Regions from separate parts of the Homo sapiens genome. Here region 1 is linked to region 2. Evidence: promoter capture Hi-C in human tissues and cell types (Jung and others, 2019). All regions are on one chromosome and are shown on one strand. The core of a region is centred on a gene start or on the middle of the fragment in contact, and the rest is flanking DNA. Distances in the headings are between cores, read along the strand shown.

Evidence for each region. The method cuts DNA at HindIII sites, captures the fragments that hold promoters and counts their contacts. A contact is called where the count stands out against the background at its distance.
Region 1: a contact is called between a fragment that was not itself captured here and the fragment with the promoter of HTR2B in region 2, in 1 of the 25 tissues and cell types used here (lymphoblastoid cells).

What each region holds. Positions count from the first base shown.
Region 1 is chr2:229,848,038-229,853,939 of GRCh38, forward strand. All of the region lies in intron 4 of TRIP12 (thyroid hormone receptor interactor 12), which reads right to left. Among named protein-coding and RNA genes, the nearest start is that of TRIP12, 71 kb to the right of the region's middle. RefSeq lists enhancers at 2,119-2,798, 2,799-3,477. The HindIII fragment of the contact is 4,381 bases long and covers 1-4,167 here.
Region 2 is chr2:231,120,634-231,127,060 of GRCh38, forward strand. HTR2B (5-hydroxytryptamine receptor 2B) reads right to left here and starts at 4,409. Exons shown (of 4, transcript NM_000867.5): 1 at 4,339-4,409; 2 at 2,780-3,497. The coding sequence starts at 3,131. The region is part of intron 16 of PSMD1 (proteasome 26S subunit, non-ATPase 1); the gene reads left to right. The HindIII fragment of the contact is 13,649 bases long and covers 1-6,427 here.

The DNA of each region.
Region 1 (5,902 bases), core at 727-3,226, 1.3 Mb before region 2:
TTGAGGCAGAAGTTTGAAACAATCTTCTCTGTGGAATTTTACCAGCTAAAGAAAAAAAGATCTAAAAATAATGATAAGAGGAAGTTTACAACAAAATGACCCAACCAGATCACTAAACAATGAATCTCGGTCAAACCTCCCTTATGTACTCAGAGCTTATAAATTAGACTTTTGGTCTTGAATTACACTTGAGTATGAGGAGACAACCAGGAATTACCAGAATTACCAGAATATGAGGAAAGTTCCTAACATGAAAGACAAAACCAATCCAAAATGCAGGCCCCCCCCGCCCCCCCCACACACACAAATACTTGAGATTACACAGGCAAAGAAAACTCACCATTAATGTCATCAAAAAAGAAATGCAACCATAAACCAAACGCATGATTCTATAAACAAGAAAATGAAAACAAAATCACCTCTTGGAAATAAAACATGGCAAACATGGGGGAAAAAAAGCATTTCAAGAGAAAAGTTGGAAGATGTAGAAATCTACCAGAAACAGAACGAAAAAGGAAAGCAATGTCAAACAGTAAGATCAAGACCATTTAAGAGGACAAGCACTCAATAGAAAATCAAGAAAGAGAAAACAAACAAGTACACGGTGACCAACAGTCCCAGTTTGCCTAGGACTATGCTGGTTTTAGAGCTGTAAGTCCTGAGTCTTCAGAATGCCCCAGATCCAGAGAAAGCAAAACCAGTTGGTCACCCTATCAAGGAATAAATCAGAACTAGGAATGGTGCCAGTATTGAAAGACAGAATACACTATATAATTCTTGAAAATTCTGAAGGAAAGTAATTCCCAACCCAGAACTCTATATTCACCAATCTGGCAAATAAATATCAGGGTGGTATAACATTTTCAGACATCTAAATTTTGAAAAAATAAATTGTAAATTATTAAAATCTCATACTTTTCCTTAGAGTCAAGAAGAAATATTCCACCAAAACAAGAAACCAAGATGACATGAAATCTAGAAAAGGGAAACTAAGAAGACTGAAGAAAATCCCAAGGCTGAAGCCGTATAACCAGGCATAATGAACAACCATCCAGAGGCCTCATTTCTTCAAGATGAAACAAATGCATGCAGACAGCTTGAGAAAAGATTGTGACAATTAGTAAGGAATGTGGAGTTTGAGTAAGTTCATGGGAAAGTAAGGAAAACAACAACAAAAAGGAATTTAAAATTCAGGAAAAGCAAAAATGTGTGAGAAAGGAAATGTTCCTTTACGTGGCTCAGTGTAAATAACATTTAGATGTTCACGATACAATAAACCCTGCGTGCTGATCATCACTGGGAAGACAGGAAGTATGTAACAGTATGTGTTTGGTAGGTGAATGGGGTGGGGTAAGGTTAGAATGCAAAATCTTCATTTTCCCTAAGGGGAACACAACAGGGATCAAACACTTGGGGGTGGGGGAGAAGAATCAACAAAGGGACATATAAAAGCACATAATCTAGACACTGAAACTTCAAAATAATCAGCCACAGAAAAGGGCAAAGTGGCAGAAAGACTGCTTTAAAAAAAAATAATAGATCTGGCCAGGCATAGTGGCTCATGCCTATAATCCAAGCACTTTCGGAGGCCTAGATAGGAGGATCGCTTGAGTCCAGGAGTTTGAGACGAACCTAGGCAACATAGTGAGACCTCATCTCTACAAAAAAAAAATCTTTCTAAAAAAATTAGCTGGGTATGGTGGCATGTGCCTGTGGTCCCAGCTACCCGGGATGCTGAGGTGGGAACACTGTTTGAATCTTTTGAGATCAAGGCTGCAGTAAGCTATGATTATCTTCTTGAAGAAGAAGAAAAAAAAGGTCTTATATAACTCTTTCACTTAACACTGCACATAAGTGTTGATAAATATAAAGTGAAAATTTTTGGCATAATACACACCAAAAAAAAAAAAAGAGGTAGCCCTTGGTGAATGAAATTAAAAGTGATTTTGTATTTTTCTTCTTTGTATATTTTGGTACTTTCTGGATTACTTTTAACAAACATATATCAGAATCAGAAGTGTCAAAACCATTCCAGAATACACGTAAGAATATAAAGGGCAATTACTAATGTAAATTGAGTAAAACATAATTTGGCTAATTTAATTCTTATTTTGACCTTGCATACAAAACAATATATAACATGGCCATTTATAATTTCCAAACAATGTAATACAAAGCAAAGCCTTGTTAACAAAGAAGTCAATGCTGTATTTACAATTAAATGATCTCTTTTTTAAATTTGGCCACTTCTGTTTAAAGTTTTTTTAAAGCCTCAAAAACACTAGGATTATTTGTTAGTAATTTTTCAAAGCGGTCACATATTGGAACTTCTAAACTTTTAAGTTGCTAAATTACTTTAATAGCTGCCTTGTAATATAGAAAACTGACACTCAACCCATTTCCTTTTAAGCTCCCTGCCCAACTCTTCACAGAGCTCACAGATTATCTACCTTTTTCACGCAAGTAGAGATGATCCTGCAAGATGCAAGTTGGTGAAACTGAAAGGTGACAGCGTGTGGCAGTCCTCACAGCCCTCGCTCGCTCTCGGCGCCTCCTCTGCCTGGCCTCCAACTTTGGCGGCACCTGAGGAGCCCTTCAGCCCACCGCTGCAATGTGGGAGCCCCTTTCTGGGCTGGCCAAGGCCAGAGCCCACTCCCTCAGCTTGCAGGGAGGTGTGGAGGGAGAGGCGCGAGTGGGAACGGGGGCTGCACCCGGCGCTTGCGGGCCAGCTGGAGTTCCGGGTGGGTGTGGGCTTGGCGGGCCCCACACTCGGAGGAGCAGCCGGCCCTGCCGGCCCCAGGCAATGAGGGGCTCAGCACCCGGGCCAGCGGCTGCGGAGAGTGTACTGGGTCCCCCAGCAGTGCCAGACCACCGGCGCTGCACTCGATTTCTCGCCGGGCCTTAGCTGCCTTCCCGCAGCGCAGGCCTCGGGAGAGCAGCCCACCATGGCTGAGCCTTCCCCCACCTCCGTGGGCTCCTGTGCAGCCCAAGCCTCCCCGACGAGCGCCGCCCCCTGCTCCAGGGCACCCAGTACCATCGATCACCCAAGGGCTGAGGAGTCCGAGCACATGGCGCGGGACCGGCAGGCAGCTCCACGTGCAGCCCCGGTGCAGGATCCACTGGGTGAAGCCAGCTAGGCTCCTGAGTCTGGTGGGGACGTGGAGAACCTTTATGTCTAGCTCAGGGATTGTAAATCGGCACTCTGTATCTAGCTCAAGGTTTGTAAACACACCAATCCGCACCCTGTGTCTAGCTCAGGGTTTGTGAATGCACCAATCGACACTCTCTAGCTACTCTGGTGGAGCCTTGGAGAACCTTTGTGTCAACACTCTGTATCTAGCTAATCTGGTGGGGACATGGAGAACCTTTAGTGTCTAGCTCAGGGATTGTAAATGCACCAATTAGCACCCTCTCAAAACAGACCACTCGGCTCTACCAATCAGCAGGATGTGGGTGGGGCCAGATAAGAGAATAAAAGCAGGCTGCCCGAGCCAGCAGTGGCAACCCGCTCGGGTCCCCTTCCACACTGGAAGCTTTGTTCTTTCACTCTTTGCAATAAATCTTGCTACTGCTCACTCTTTGGGTCCACACTGCTTTTATGAGCTATAACACTCACCGCGAAGATCTGCAGCTTCACTCCTGAAGCCAGCAAGACCATGAGCCCACCGGGAGGAAGGAACAACTCCAGACGTGCTGCCTTAAGAACTGTAACACTCACCGCGCAGCTTCACTCCTGAGCCAGCGAGACCATGAACCCACCAGAAGGAAGAAACTCCAAACACATCCGAACATCAGAAGGAACAAACTCCAGACGCGCCACCTTAAGAGCTGTAACACTCACCATGAGGGTCCGCGGCTTCATTCTTGAAGTCAGTGAGACCAAGAATCCACCAATTCCGGACACAAAACCATGTATCTAACTTAAATTCATCTCTCCTGCTTAACTCATTCTTATTTCCTCCCTCCGTGCTAGGGGCCCAAAGCACTAAGTCTTCCTAATCTAATCAGAATCTCTTTTCTAGAATTTGGCTTTTGCCTGGTTCTTGTCTAGGTCTGATAAAAACCACAGGCTACATGCAAAGTCACCAGGAGAATATGAAACTCAAGACAAAAGTAAGCTGTTAACTACTGCTATGTTACTAATAACGTGCACATGATGTCCACTTTAAATAATAGAGAGTAAAGTAGATCTTCAATAGAACATCTGCCTGGAAATATAACTTAAGTTTTTCTATAAACAGGTTCCATAATTACTCAGATTTTGATCACCAATTGTTTCTTATAATTCTATACCATCATCATCTACTCACTTTGAAATTATTGCAAATTTTTTTTTAAATTAGCTTTTATAAGAAGGTAGATTAGCAAAATATATTTTGAAGCCAAACTATTATAAAATTATTTAAAGTATATTAAAATATAAAAAGATTTTTGAAGCCATCTATATCATTATATTACCCTACTGGTTTTATATTTATGCTGTATAAAATTTGCAAAAATGTCTACTTACTTAGGCTAAACAAGAGACAGCTATAACTTCCTAATGTACATTAAAAATTGTTACATAACAATTTTCTTTCTGGGGTACTCAGGAGACTTTTACCAAGTAACACAGAATGACCTTTGTCTCAGAGCTGTTTTGATGAGATACAGCTGGCAAGCAGCAATGCTTCAGGAAGTCTATCACTAAAGTAGCGGTTTCACTAGATCTTCTGCCAGCCCTAGTGCCTCGCCGGGAACTTGTTCATTGGTCTATCAACAATTGACTAAGCAGCACAATAACAAGGTCTTCCTGTTTAAGCTTCCTCACTAAATGTATTATATCATTTCCTGAGTGTATTCCATGAACCACTACTGGTTCCCAAGTAATAGCTGGTCAAATTAATTTGCAAATTATTGGGTTAAGAAGTTACTGCAAGTCTTCCCACAGCTTTCAATATATTCCTGCTTATCTAGAATCTCCTTGAATAATACTTGAACATGGAGAATGGTTTTTCATAAAGCATCTTAAAAATACTGTTGTTCCTACAATTTTTAAAACATTTCCTTTACTATGAAAGCTCTCCTACTGACCAATTATGTCTTAGAATAAGTCTTTACCTAAGGAAACACATCACATTCAAATAGGTTCAATTCTTAAAAACTGGAAGAAAACAAAGGATATCCAAAATAAAATAAAAAACCTACCCAATGTGAAATTTCTCACAATGGCCTACTCTATTTTTAATATAATTTTTAGATTTTTATTCTACTAAGATTTGTATTAATCAGAAGCCCATCTCTCAACTTTCATCCACCCACTGAATCTAATTCTGGCCTCTGAATTAACGTTAAAACAAAAAACCCTGATGCATACAAAAGCCCTTTAAATACATGACCTGGCTGGGCGAGGCGGGCAGATCACCTGAGGTCAGGAGTTCGAGACCAGCCTGGCCAACATGGCAAAACCGCATCTCTACTAAAAATACAAAAATTAGCCAGGTGTGGTGGCACCTGTGAATCCCAGCTACTTGGGAGGCTGAGACACGAGAATCACTTGAATCCAGGAGGGGGAGGATGCAGTGAGCAGAGATCACACCACTGCACTCCAGACTGGGCGACAAGAATGAGACTCTGACTCCAAAAATAAATAAATAAATAAAATACATACATACATACATACATACATGACCATAACTCTCAATTCAACATTACATGGTACATTACAATATGTTGCTGCATTCTATGGCACTTCATATGTGAAAACAACTTTGAAAATCTTTCATTTATGCTTCACAAGGAGGAATCTTATTATTTTGCAAATAAGATTAGTAATAGGGTTGGTATCATAACTACAGCTGAATGATTTGCCCAACCTCGCCAAACTATGAGGAGATAATATTTTTTAAAGCAATGTACATGT
Region 2 (6,427 bases), core at 3,159-5,658:
TCTCTCAGTATAAGGACAGAAGGTCCACTTTTATATTTTACTGCTCTTATTTTTAAAATTTCATTTTATTAGACTACGAGCTAGTATAGTTTTTGTGTTACTTTCATTGAATTCCCCTGCGATAGCTAAAATTATTGCTCATAGTGATAGTTAATCTTTTATCATAGAACCAAGAACGCTTGTTTGTACAAACGTTAGAAGTCCTAAAGATTAACACTACAATAAGAGTGTAAAGTCTAATTCTGCCTTTTAAAGTTATCAGAAGTTCTTATAAATGCATTAGTTTAGAAAAATCTTTGTGTTTATTAACTTGCAAAAGGTTATAAAAATATCTTGGTATTTGAAGTCAGGTTTCCATTTGTAATACATGCAGTTCCCAATTTATGAATTCATCCTTTGAAGTTTGTTAGAGGGCAACATGTGTTTTTTTCCTACATTTTTTCATAGAAATTGAATTATGCTTTAAATAATGCAATAATGTATTAGATAGTAGTTCACAGATTTGTTCATTTTTTAAAAATCTACAAACCCCACTATACAACTTATTTCTGATAGTAAAAGTGTTTGGGGCTATAAAATATTTTATTTTGTAATTAGAAATTAACAAACATGAGCCAGGCATGGTGGAATGTGCCTGTAATCCTAGCTACTTAAGAGGCTGAAGGCAGAGGATCACTTGAACCCAGGAGTTTGAGGCCAGCCCAGGCAACATTGCCAGACTCCATCTCTATTAAAATAAATAAATAAAAATAAATTTAAAGTTAATAAACATTTGGAAGAATGAAATAATATTAAAATGTCTATCAATTATTTAAGACATAAATATGAAGACATTTCACATATTTTATGTTAACATATGTTGGGTTTTCTGCTAACTTGTATTGCTAAGGATATGTTGGGTACCAGCATTTTAAATATACACTTAAAGTTTTCAGCTGCTGGATACCTATTTTTCTATAGAATACATGGAATCTATTAAACAGGTAAATCTTTGTTACCTGTTTTTGTATTTTGTTTGTTAGCTCACTTTAATTCTATGGTACTTTGCCTTTTAAGATTCCTTAACTATTTAGCTGATAATTTAAGTATCTACCATGGTACTTTGCATATAATAGATGTTTGATATTTATGGACTCAAAGATTTTAAAGCTAAAATTCACTTCTGCATAATTCTTTCAATATCATGTATTGAATGACGTATTAAATTTTATGGTAGTCTGAAATAAGCATTTTGACATTTTCTGTGTGCCTAGCAAAGCACAGTTTGAAGAGTATGATTTTACATCTTAAGCTACTATTATGCACATGGAGATGAGAGCTAGAATCATATGCCTGTACAGTATTTATCAAATATGCATATATATTTCTACATAATACTTTCTTTTAAGCTTTATTCAGAATTAGGGTTATGTTCTCTATTATAGTAAGATTTCTTAATTATTTTTCATGGTTTCATGCAGCATTAGATTATTTAAAAGATTACAAATTTATAAAACAGGGAGATAGAAAGACTGTTAATTATTAGAAAGTCTAATTAAAGCAGTAGAACTTTACTCATTACTGCTTGTCCTGCCACATAATTTTCTTGATTTATTTTAAAGCCCAGGTAAATGTTGATTTAAAATGGAAGGTGTAAACCTGTTACTATCTGATAATAGTTTTAGATATCTTTCTGTTATTACTTATAAAATTGTAATGTGTAAAACCTGGGTATAATAGTTGGAATAGCAGGGGTTTTTTACCTTCTAATATGGATTCTAGTTTAATAAATTTTACTTCTGTAACTTAAAATATTTTTATCTTCATATAAGTAAATATAATTCTAAGAAACTATATCTGCCACAAGTAATCATTTTGCTTAGGCAGTTTATGAATGGAATATCAGTTTATACCAAGCATTGAATAAGTTAAATATCCTTTTAATGCTGATTCCAAGGGTCTAGGAGCCCTCATAATTCATCAGCAGAATTATTTGTGTTTATCCAAATTTTATAACTAGAGATGATATGCAGAAATCTGGAACTACTTATATCTTTTTTTTATTATAGCAAACTAAGATTTCAGTGTCAAACTATACCTTTTATTATCGCAATAACTAGGTTTTAATCCACTTACCAACTTAGAGGCCTATCAGGAACACAGATGCCCATATATCATAAAAAAATTGAATCGATAGATCATCTCTTTGGACACTCTGAGCCAAACCATTTCCTTCAGCAACTAAACATAATTTTTCTTAACATGACACATATGTAGGAATTGTGTTCAAGTTTATAATATACAAACTATTAAGAGCTATAATAAGAATTTTTGGACAGTTCCAATTTTAAACTGGGGTTTAGTGATTTAAATTGGGATTTAGTAATTCAAAGACCTTATCGTTAACCCAGCGCATATCTGTCCCGGAAGTGTCCTAGTTATTGCTTTGAGGAAAAAAAGTATCAGTGTAGAAAAGTTAAAGTATAGGCCTATTTACTATAATTTATAGATAATATATTCAGAATCTATAAATATCACTAACTTGAATGACTTTTTAAATGATTTTATTAGATAGCTTAGGAGGGAGAAAAATAGTTTACAAAAAATATTTTTTGCTCTTTAAAACTGCTGATCAACCATAGAGAATGATATAAAACAAGGGACTGTTTACTTGCCGTATCTTTAAATAGTCCAAGTTCATCTTTTATTTCAAGAAAAGTAAAGATTAAATGAGTGTCCATTCTCTAATAGTATATCATAGTTCTGTGGTTTGATGGCACAAACAAAGTGAAATACTTACCAAACATTATTGTCAAGAGGGCAATTGGCATCACAAACAATCCAACCAGCAAATCAGCCACCGCCAAGGACATTAGAAAGTAATTAGTAGCATACTGCAGCTTCTTCTCCAGTGAAACAGCCAGAATAACAAGGGTATTTCCACCAATTGTGGGTATTATCACCATGAGTATCAGAAGAGCTGCCCAGTGCAGTTTATTTCCCTGTTCCTCAACAATCTGTTTCATTTCCTCTGGTATTGATTCTGTCTGTAATCCAGACCAGTTAGAAGAGATAACGTGAACAAAGGTGCTCTGCAAAATGTGCTCAGGAATTGTGCTTTGAAGTTCAGACACTCTGTAAGAGAGAGCCATTTGCTGTTTTTCTGTGATTCAATCCCGTTCCGAACAGTGGTCAGCATGGTTAGTAGCTAAGCTGCTCATCTGTTTTTTTAAGGCATTGTAACCATGCCAAACACTCAAAAGCCAAAGTTGACACCTTCCTTTAAAAAAAAAAATTCAAGTTCTCTAAAATGAGCGCATACACACATCTGTCCATGTTTGTAGGTAAGATATCCAAGTATTTATTATTTTCTAGAGGCTTAAATTTAGGAAAGCTCAGTGAAAGAAACTGATAGCTGTGAAAAAAATAGGATATATATATATTTTTAGTTTCTCTCTCTCTCTTTTTCTGCCGTAGTTGTAGAGTCGTGTTTGAACTTGCATGCCAGAGAGTTCCCCCTAGATACAAAATACATAGACTGCATTATTTTATTCATTTCTGAAAGTGGTAAAAACACTTGAACTTCATAGCCCTTCCCTTCTTAGTAAGTCTGTTGTGCATTTGTGACAATGCAGCCAATTCTCCAAATATACTGTATTTCTGATGTTGCTCAGTTAATGAAACAGAAGACACATTAATTTTTTCAATGGTTATAATAAAAAGTTAGGTGTTTCCTGACCCTTGAATGTCTTTTTACCTTTACTTACAGAAGAATAGAAAAGTCGAAACACAATAGTTCAGAATAGAACTTTTAGTATGCGCTGGCCACCCACCTAGAAACACTCAAAGCCCAACAAGGGTCTAAATAAATGTTTTACCAGCTAGGGATCCTTATATGTAATTAGCTTTGTCTTATCAGGTTTGTGAGTACTGATATAAATGTCATTTTAGATTTCCTTTAGTTTGAGAGAAGGAAAAAAAAAGGTATTACTAGGATCCAAATAATTGTGTTTAGTAATTTCATCTCTCATGGTATGTCTTTGCAACAATTGTGTTCTAAATTTAATCACTAAATTTGCCAAATTCAAACCAGTTCTTTTTTTGTTTTAAGTAGTGTTTATTTTTTTAACCTTCCCAGTTGCCTTGAGAAGAAAGGGAAACCAAAAGGAAGATTAGACCATTTATTTGTTCATCAAATGTACAAATCACGTTTTTAAAAACTCTCCTTTAGCATTAGTAAATTTTTCATTTTGATTTTTAAACCGCTGAATAGAAATGAAAGATTATGATAGCAGAATTCTTGAAGATTAAAAAAAAAAACCTTTAGATTAATTCCATATGTGTTTATTAAATGCTTACCTCTGGTTTCGTTGTTATTTTGCTGAGCATGTCATCTTATCTGTTCACTAGACTTGCTTGCTGCTGTGACTGAAATCCTCCTCCCATTGACTTATTCTGAGCCTCCAGCACAGGCGGTTGAAAGCAGTGAAACAAATACGTTGTATAGCTGCAAGCATGCCAAGGAGGTTATTTCCTCTTTGATACATTCATTTTTAGAGAGTAGCAGCATTCATTGTAATTCATAAAACCACTGTTAAGCATGTTGAACCAGTTCATGGCCCTTATTCAAGTTATATTTTTAAGAGCTCTCTTTAATATTTGGGGGGACTGTAATAAACTTGATCATTTTAGCTTCAGATAGTTTTGTTTGGGGTTAAGCCTGAGCTGTTTTTCACATTTGAGAAAAAATAAGATATAATCTAGCTATTTTAGAGGTTTCATTCTTTGAAGATTCTGCCGTTTTAAAAGCCTATAGTGATTTCTACAGTTCTGATTTCTAGCAGTGAAACAAGATTCTTATCTAGCTTTTGTGCCTTTGCTGTGGAACACCATTAATTTGCTCTGGTTGCAACCTTATATAGAAGAGCACAGAAAGGCCTGAATTCTACATGTATACATAGGTTTTAGCAGAAACTTTTTTACTGCTTATTTTTAAACAGATGATCTCTGGGTTTAGGAGTGGTTCACAGCTTTTTTTCCCCATAGACTTTACGTTGGAGAAAATACAAGTAATGAAAATACGTTTTTGCCTTATTTCAGAAAATTGGTGTTTAAATCTTAATAGTTATGCTATTTAAGTTTTCTGTAACCATAAGACTAGCTTAGTATTAGAACCTCAGCATTCTCAAGGTTTCCTTTTAAAAGATCATTATAGATGCATATTTTAAAATTAATTACTTATAAATCAGTGATGACATTTGTGCCCTTTTCTTGTTTCAAATTTGTATTCCTTTGCTCATGTTGAATGTTATTGGAAAATACTTAGTTCATTTTAGCTCTGCTGAGCACTTCAGATTTTATTCAGTATTTGCTGCTTTTTTAAAAACTCAAAATTTACTATATTAGAAAAAATACTTGTGAAGAATTCTAGATGAAATAATATTCAAGAGAAATCAGATGTTTTTTAATGTACCAGAATTTCTATTCAGGAATATGAAAATATTTTAAGGCAAGGTGCGGTGGCTCATTCCTGTAATTCCAGCACTTTGGTAGACCAAGACAGGTGGATTGCTTGAGTCTAGAAGAGACCAGCTTGGGCAACATGGCAAAACCCCATCTCTACAAAAAAAACCACATAAATTAGCCAAGGGTGGTGGTTCACACCCGTAGTCCCAGCTACTGGGCGGCGGCGGAGGGGTTGAGGGTTAGGGGTCAGGGGAGACCTGAGGCAGGAGGATTGCATGAACCTGGGGGAGGTCGAGGCTGCAGTGAGCTGAGATCACACCACTGCGCTCCAGCTTGGGGTGACAGAATGAGATCTTGTCTCCAAGATTAAAAAAAAAAGAGGAAAAGAAATTATTTTTAAATACTGCTTAGTTGTGAGTTACACTTTGACATCTGTGCTTATGAAGGCAGGTAGGGATCTGCAAAACAAGTAATGTCAGATTGAAAATAGCAGCACCATTTTATATCCAGTGAAAAGACTTGTATGAAATAAGCCTTTATTGATTTGTTTATAGATAAAATTTTTTAAATATTAAGTATATTATAAAAATGCAGTCATTGTTGTATTTTGCCTGTATTAATCCTTTCACTCACATTCACTCATTTTTTGCCTCAACTTATAAAAAGTAAGATTGGTACTCTGATTTTTTTTATTTTTGCTTTTTTAAGTCTGTTTAATGTCTAAGGAACGTAACTAGTTAGAACAGCTACTTATTTGGCAATCTCAAGTTATGGGAAGCATAGCTGAGAATCAAGAAAAAAGCAAAATAATAATAAATAAATAATTATATAAAAGGATAGTTGAGTCTCAGCAAATAACTAAACCTGTGCTCTAAAACCCTAAGCACTTTAAGTAGAAAGTAGCCTCTAAGTCCCCACTCCATATCTTTTTACTCTTTACACACATACACGCACACACACGCACAGACGTATACACACACAC